Regions from separate parts of the Homo sapiens genome. Here region 1 is linked to region 2. Evidence: promoter capture Hi-C in human tissues and cell types (Jung and others, 2019). All regions are on one chromosome and are shown on one strand. Each heading gives the region's core, a stretch centred on a gene start or on the middle of the fragment in contact. The rest is flanking DNA. Distances are from core to core; before and after follow the strand shown.

Region 1 (5,412 bases), core at 515-3,014, 530 kb before region 2:
GTCCCAGCTACTCGGGAGGCTGAGGCAGGAGAATGGTGTGAACCCAGGAGGCGGAACTTGTAGTGAGCCGAGATCGCGCCCCTGCACCCCAGCCTGGGCGACAGAGCGAGACTCCATCTCAAAAAGAAAAAAAAGGAAGGATAGAATTAGAAAACCATTAACCAGGCGTGCTGGTCCTAGCTACTAGGGAGACTGAGGTGGGAGGATTGCTTGAGCCCCTGAGGTCAAGGCTACAGTGAGCCTCTATTGCCACTGCACTCCAGCCAGGGTGACAGAGCAAGACCCTGGAAAGAAGAAAAGAAAGAAAGAAAGGAAAGAGGAAAGGAAGAAGGAAAGCAAGCAAGAAAGAAAGCAAGCAAGAAAGAAAGAGGAGAAAGAAAAGAAAGAGAGAAAAAAGGAAAGAAAGAAAAAAGAAAAAGAAAGAAGGGAGGGAGGGAGGGAAAGAAAGAAGGGAAGGAAGGAAGGAAGGGAGAAGAAAGGGAGGGAGAAAGGGAAAGAAAAGAAGAAAAGAAAAGAAAAGGCCAGGTGCAGTGCCTCATGCCTGTAATCCCAGCACTTTGGAAGGCCAAGGTGGGCAGATCACCTGAGGTCAGAAGTTCAAGACCAGCCTGGCCAACCAACATGGTGAAACCCTGGCTCTACAGAAAATACAAAAATTAGTGGGGCATGGTGGTGGGCACCTATAATCCCAGCTACTTGGGAAGCTGAGGCAGGAGAATCGCTTGAACCCAGAAGGTGGAGGTTACAGTGAGCCGAGATCACACCACCGGACTCCAGTCTGGGCAACAAGAGCAAAACTCCATTAAAAAAAAGAAAGAAATAGGCCAGGCGCAGTGGCTCACGCCTGTAATCCCAGCACTCTGGGAGGCCGAGACAGGCAGATCACGAGGTCAGGAGATCAAGACCATCCTGGCTAACACGGTGAAATCCCATCTCTACTAAAAATACAAAAAAAAAATTAGCCAGGCGTGGTGGTGGGCGCCTATAGTCCCAGCTACTCAGGAGGCTGAGGCAGGAGAATTGCTGGAAACTGGAGGCGGAGGCCGCACTCCAGCGGCGAGAGAGTGAGACTCCATCAAAAAAGAAAGGGAGGGAGGGAAGGAGGGAAGGAGAGAAGGAGGGAGGGAGGGAGAGGAGGAGAGGAGAAAAGAGGGAGGGGAGGGGAGTGGAGGGGGAGAATAATTTGTAACCACTAATGAAATAGCAGGTCCTGGCAGGGATTTCCAATGGCTGCTAATATCACAACATCAGGCTCTGTGGGACTCTTTCCCTCTCCATGAAGTTGCACCCACCCTGTGGTCATCTTCTTGCTAAAAAAATCAACCTGAATGAGATTAAACAGACCAGTTTGGACATTTACACCTAGAGCTAACTGACTATAGGAAATATAAGGGTTGAGGAACGTGCCACATCAACCACAAGGACGAAATCAGCAAAATCCAGACAGGTGGAACCCTTTGGAACAAAAGACCTGCCTTCTTCCACAAATAACCTGAAAGGAGAAAAATGAAAGAGGGTAAATCCCGCGGTTAAAAGAGATTTAAGAGACATAGTGGCCAAGTGCAATGATTGGAAACCAACCGTTAAAAGAAATTTAGGTGGGTCGCGGTGGCTCACGCCTGTAATCCCAGCACTTTGGGGGGCCGAGGCGGGTGGATCACGAGGTCAGGAGATCGAGACCATCCTGGCCAACACGGTGAAACCCCGTCTCTACTAAAAATACAAAAAAAATACAAAAAAATACAAAAAAAATACCCCGTCTCTACTAAAAATACACCAGCCGGGCGTGGTGGTGGGCGCCTGTAGTCCCAGCTACTCGGGAGGCTGAGGCAGGAGAATGGCATGAACCCAGGAGGCGGAGCTTGCAGCGAGCCGAGATCACACCACTGCACTCCAGCCCGGGTGACAGAGTGAGACTCCGTCTCAAAAAAAAAAAAGAAAGAAATTTAAGGCTGGGCATGGTGGCTCACACCTGTAATCGCCACATTTTAGGAGGCTGAGGTGAGAGGATCTCTTGAGACCAGGAGCTTGAGACCAGCCTAAGCAACATAGGGAGACCCCATCTCTACAGAAAGTTTAAAAATTATCTGGGCATGGTGGTGCACGCCTGTAGTCCCAGCTACTCAAGCGGCTGAGGTGGGAGGATTGCTTGAGCCTAGGAAGTCGAGGCTGCAGTGAGCTGTGATTGTGCCACTGCACTCTAGCCTGGGCAACAAAGCAAGACCCTGTCCCCCCAAAAAAACAGACAAACAAAACAACAACAAAAAATTTAAGACAACCAAGGAAATTTGGACATTAGATGATACTAAGTATCGATCAATAATTGGTGGGTGGGGGCATGATACTGTGATTTTTTTTTTTTTTTTTTTTTTTTTGAGATAGAGTCTTGCTCTGTCACCCAGGCTGGAGTGCAGTGGCTCAATCTCGGCTCACTGCAACCTCTGCCATGTGGGTTCAAGCAATTCTCCTGCCTCAGCCTCTGGAATAGCTGGGATTACAGGCGCACGCCACCATGCCTGGCTAATTTTTGTATTTTTAGTAGAGATGGGTTTCACCATGTTGGCCAGGCTGGTCTTGAACTCCTGACCTCGTGATCCGCCCGTCTCGGCTTCCCAAAGTGGTGGGATTACAGGAATGAGCCACCGCGCCCAGCTTGTGGTTGTTTTTTCAAAAAGAGTCCTAGGCTGGGTGCAGTGGCTCATGCCTGTAATCCCAGCACTTTGGGAGGCCTAAGCAGGAGGACCATTGAGTCCAGGAGTTCAGCCTGGGCAACATAGTGAGATGCTGTCTCCAAAAAAAACACAAAAGCAAACAAACAAAAGGCCATGGAGGAGGCCAATCCCCAGCTGTGCTGAGCCAGGATCAGATTCTCTCAGCCCCTTTCAGCAGCACCTGTCCTCCTCTGAGTCAATATATTGCTGTTGCAGCCGGGCGCGGTGGCTCATGCCTGTAATCCCAGCACTTTGGGAGGCCGAGGTGGACGGATCACCTGAGGTCAGGAGTTTGAGACCAGACTGACCAACATGGAGAAACCCCATCTCTACCGAAAATACAAAATTAGCTGGGCGCGGTGGCGCATGCCTGTAATCCCAGCTACTTGGGAGGCTGAGGCAGGAGAATCGCTTGAACCCAGGAGGTGGAGGTTGTGGTGAGCTGAGATTGCGCCATTGCACTCCAATTGGGCAACAAGAGCGACACTCCATCTCAAAAAAGAAAAAAAAAAGAAAGAAAAAGAAAAAGAAATATGGAACATAAAAGTTACCATTTTAATCGTTTAAAAGTGTACAGGCCAGGCGCAGTGGCTCACACCTGTGATCCCAGCACTTTGGGAGGCCGAGGCAGGCAGATCACCTGAGGTCAGGGGATCAAGACCATTCCGGCCAACATGGTGAAACCCCGTCTCTACTAAAAATACAAAAATTAACCAGGTACACAGGCACACGCCTGTAGTCCCAGCTACTCGGGAGGCTGAGGCAGGAGAATCGCTTGAACCCAGGGGCCAGAGGTTGCAGTGAGCCGAGATCACACCACTGCACTCCAGCCTGGCAACAGAGCAAGACTCTGTCTCAAAAAAAAGTGTACAATTGGCTGGGTGCGGTGGCTCACGCCTGTAATCCCAGCACTTTAGGAGGCCAAGGAGGGTGGATCACCTGAGGTCAGGAGTTCAAGACCAGCCTGGCCAACGTATCGAAATTCTGTTTGTATTAAAAATACAAAAATCAGCTGGGTGTGGTGGCACACACCTATAATCCCAGCTACTTGAGAAGCTGAGGCAAGAGAATCGCTTGAACCCAGGAGGCAGATGCTGCAGTGAGCTGAGATTGCACCACTGCACTCCAGCCTGGATGACAGAGCCAGGATGGTCTTGTTCTCCTGACCTCGTGATCTGCCAGCCTCAGCCTCCCAAAGTGCTGGGATTACAGGTGTGAGCCACTGCTCCCAGCAGTTTTTTTTTTTGTTTTTTTTTTTTTGAGACAGGGTCTTGCTCTGTCATCCAGGCTGGAGTGCAGTGGCTCAATCACAGCTGACTGCAACCTCAATCTCCCCAGGTTCAAGTGATCCTCCCACCTCACCCTTCTGAGTAGCTGGGTTACTACAAGCGTGTGCCACCAGGACAGGCTAATTTTTTGTATCTTTTGTTGTGGGATTTTGCCATGTTGCCCAGGCTGGTTTTGGACTCCTGGGCTCAAGCGATCTGCCTGCCTAAGGCTCCCAAAGTGTTGGGATTACAGGTGTGAGCCATCATGCCCTCACTGTCACTATTTTCCTTTTTTTTTTTTTTTATTTTTTGTGGCCATCCTACTGGATGTGAAGTGATATCTCACTGTTATTTTGATTTGCACTTCCCTAATGATCCCCTGATGATGTTGAGTATCTTTTTCATCTCCCGGTTGGCCATGTGTATATCTGCTTGGGAGAAAATAAAGTCCTTTGCTCATTTTTAAATTGGGTTCTTTTTGTTGTTGATTTGTAGGCGTTCTTTACATATTGTGGATACTAGATCCTTATCAGACATAATTTTGTGGGGTTTGGGGTTTTTTTGTTTGTTTTTGAGATAGGGTCTCACTGTGTCACCCAGACTAGAGTGCAGTGGCTCAATCACAGCTCACTGCAGTCTCAAACCTCAAACTCCTATCAAGAGATCCTTTCTCCTCAGCCTCCTGAGTAGCTGGGACCACAGGCAGGCCACCACCATGCTCAGCTAATAAAAAAAAAATTGGGGCCAGGCATGCTGGCTCACACATGTAATCCCAGCACCTTGGGAGGCTGAGGCGGGCAGATCACGAGGTCAGGAGATTGAGACCATCCTGGCTAACACGGTGAAACCCCGTCTCTACTAAAAAATATGAAAAGATTAGCTAGGTGTGGTGGTGGGCACTTGTAGTACCAGCTGCTGGGGAGGCTGAGGCAGGAGAATGGCATGAACCCGGGAGGTGGAGCTTGCAGTGAGCTGAGATCACACCACTGCACTCCAGCCTAGGTGACAGAGCAAGACCCCATGTCAAAAAAAAAAAAAAAAAAATTGGCTGGGTGCGGTGGCTCACGTCTGTAATCCCAGCACTTTGGGAGGCCAAGGCAAGCAAATCACCTGCGGTTGGGAGTTCAAGATCAGCCCGAGCAACATGGAGAAACCCCGCCTCTACTAAAAATACAAAATTAGCTAGGTGTGGTGGCGCATGCCTGTAATCCCAGCTACTCGGGAGGCTGAGGCAAGACAATCGCTTGAACCCAGGAGGCGGAGGTTGTGGTGTGAGCCAAGATCACACCATTGGACTCCAGCTTGGGCAACAGAGGGAAACTGCGTTTCAAAAAAAAAAATTTGTAGAGACAAGGTCTTGCCAAGTTGCCCAGGGAACCTGCACTGGGCAGTTCCGGAAGAGCTGCAGCTTTCAACGCTTCGAGAGTGCGTGA
Region 2 (2,601 bases), core at 102-2,601:
GTGTCCTAGGTTGGGGGAGGTACCCCAGCCCTGCTCACCTTGTGGGGCCCGAGCTCTAGGGCCATCACCTTGGTCAGCATGTCCAGGGCACCCTTGGTGGAGCCTACGAAGAGGAACCCAAGCTGGCTGGGGCTGGGGTCGGTGATGAGGGCGAGGCTGGGGCTGGGGTGGGGCTGAGGGCACAGCTGGGGCACTCACAGTAGACGCTATGGTTAGTTACTGCCCGCTGGGAGCACTGGCTGGAGACATTCACGATGGCCCCTGGGACTCCCCGGGCTATTAAGCCCCTGGCCACAATCTGGAATCGCAGCGAGACCGTGAGGCAGAGCTGGCATCACTCACGAGAATTCCCGTCCAGCCCACAGGGCAGCTCACCTGCGACACCTGGATGACCGCACGCAGGTTCACCTCAAAGGATCTAGAGGCCGAGGGACAGACCCTGGTCAGAGATTAGGGCTGCTGCGTCCTCCAGGACAGCCCCTCCCTGAGGTTCCTCCGCCCTCACAGGCTCACCTGTCAAAGGCCTCCTTGGTGACCTCCAGGAAGGGCTGCAGCAGGGCGACAGCGGCGTTGTTCACCAGCAGGTCCACGGGGCCCACGCTGCCCAGCGCCCGCTCGGTGGCCTCCCAGTCACCCAGGTCCACGCACACGGGTTCTATCCCCGGGCACTGTGTGTATCAGGGGGCAGTTACCAGAGGCTCTGTGCCCAGCAAGCGGCACAGCTGGGGACTGGGGCTGGTGACCTTTCAGCCGGACAAGTAAAGGAGTTAGGAGTTCCGAAGGTGTCGGGACTGTGGGGCCAGCAGCCGGGCGCTACCTCCGGCCGGTTCACTTCCTCCCTGCGCCCGAGCGACTCCTGCCCGGGGCCTGCTTCGCAGCCATTTCGGCCTCTTTCTGAGCCCGGGGGCCCCGGCGGCTCTGCCGACCACCCGGCCGCCCACGCAGGCCACCAGCCCCGAGAGAGGGTGCGCGGGCGCCCAGGCCGCGGTGAGAAGCGCAGCGCCCGCGAGGGGAGGCGGAGTCGCGCACAGAGGTACCGCCCCCGCTCGCTGCCGCCCCCTCCTGGCTCGCCGCCTCGCAGCGCTGGGACCCGGCGGGACCTACCTCGCGGACAAGGCTGTCAAGATCCGCCTGAGTCCGGCTCACAGCCACCACCCGCGCGCCCGTCGCGTGCAGCGCCTGGACCGTGCCGCGCCCTATACCTGCCGGGAGCGGGCTCAGTGAAGGCGTCCCCTGCCCGCCTCTGCCCGCCGCCGGCCTTTGCCCACCTTTCCCCGCCGCCCACCTTTGCCTGCCCCGGTGACCAGCACCCGGCGGCCCGCGAGGAACAGCTCCATGTCGGCGCAGTCTCCGCCCTCCGCACTGGGGCTGCGGAACTTGAAGCTCTGGCCACGATGGGCGGGGCGCGGCGGGGCCAATGGCAGGGCGGCCTTCAGATAGGCGGTGGGGACATTCAAATAGCTGCTCCCCGCTGCAGTGATTGGCCGAAAGGAGTGGGCGCGCCGGGGCGGGGCGGGGTCTCCGCTGCCTCAGGGACGGGTCTTTTGAAGTGCCTGGTGTGACCCATCTTCCGTGCTTGAAATCGACGTAGTGGACCCTGGCTAGCATATTTTTCCCTGCCAAGATTATTGCAAAAAGACGATGTGGTGGTTAATATCGGAAAGAATGTGTGGTTAATATCAGGAAGAACACGTGAAATGGAGAATTTCAGGGCTAACATTTCTTGTTTTGTTTCTGAAAACATCGGCATGTCCTAAAAAGTGTCGCCTGTGCCCATCATCTCTCAGGCTTGGGAGCAGGACACCGCCGGCTCACTTTAAAGCCAAGGGAAAGAATTTGGACAACCAACTACGTCTGGAGAAGACACCAATGTCAGCAGAGCTCCGCTTTCATCTGTGGGCGAAGGATTACCTAGATGCCAAGGCAAGAGACTGAAGACACAAACTGTTTCAGTATAACAAAGAAAATAGGCCGGGAGCGGTGGCTCACGCCTGTAATCCCAGCACTTTGGGAGGCCGAGGCGGGTGGATCACGAGGTCAGGAGATCGAGACCATCCTGGCTAACACGGTGAAACCCCATCTCTACTAAAAATACAAAAAATTAGCCGGGCGCGGTGGCGGGCACCTGTAGTCCCAGCTACTCAGGAGGCTGAGGCAGGAGAATGGCGCGAACCCAGGAGGCGGAGCTTGCAGTGAGCCGAGATTGCGCCACTGCACTCCAGCCTGGGCGACAGAGCAAGACTCCATCTTTAAAAAAAAAACAGTTAAAATAAAAATAGTCATAATACAAATTAGATATAAAAATGATCATGATCATGGATAATTATCAATCATTAGTATAAACATTATTAATCATTAGCTTTTAATATTACTCTTTGTTGCATTACTAATATAACCTAGGGACATTGTGAGAAGTGACCTAGAAGGCAAGAGGTGAGCCCTCTGTCACTCCCGCATAAGGGCTGCTTGAGGGCTCCTTGGTCAAGCAGTAATGCCGTTGTCTGGGAAGCCACCCGTTACTTAGAAGACTGCGAAGGGGAGTCTCCTTTCCTTGGAGGCGTCAGGGAACACTCTGCTCCACCAGCTTCTTGTGGGAGGCTG

What was found. Contacts are between HindIII fragments. The study calls those that stand out against the background at their distance.
Region 1: a fragment that was not itself captured here is called in contact with the fragment with the promoter of DCXR in region 2 in 1 of the 25 tissues and cell types used here (spleen).

The regions. Positions count from the first base shown.
Region 1 is chr17:81,503,445-81,508,856 of GRCh38, forward strand. No RefSeq gene overlaps it. Among named protein-coding and RNA genes, the nearest start is that of ACTG1, 6.6 kb to the right of the region's middle. The HindIII fragment of the contact is 9,311 bases long and covers 1-5,412 here.
Region 2 is chr17:82,036,346-82,038,946 of GRCh38, forward strand. It overlaps DCXR (dicarbonyl and L-xylulose reductase), which reads right to left and starts at 1,352. Exons shown (of 8, transcript NM_016286.4): 1 at 1,286-1,352; 2 at 1,105-1,202; 3 at 514-668; 4 at 376-418; 5 at 199-298; 6 at 39-103. The coding sequence starts at 1,337. It overlaps DCXR-DT (DCXR divergent transcript), which reads left to right and starts at 1,573. Exons shown (of 2, transcript NR_159948.1): 1 at 1,573-1,923. RefSeq lists a silencer at 743-1,572. The HindIII fragment of the contact is 8,854 bases long and covers 1-2,601 here.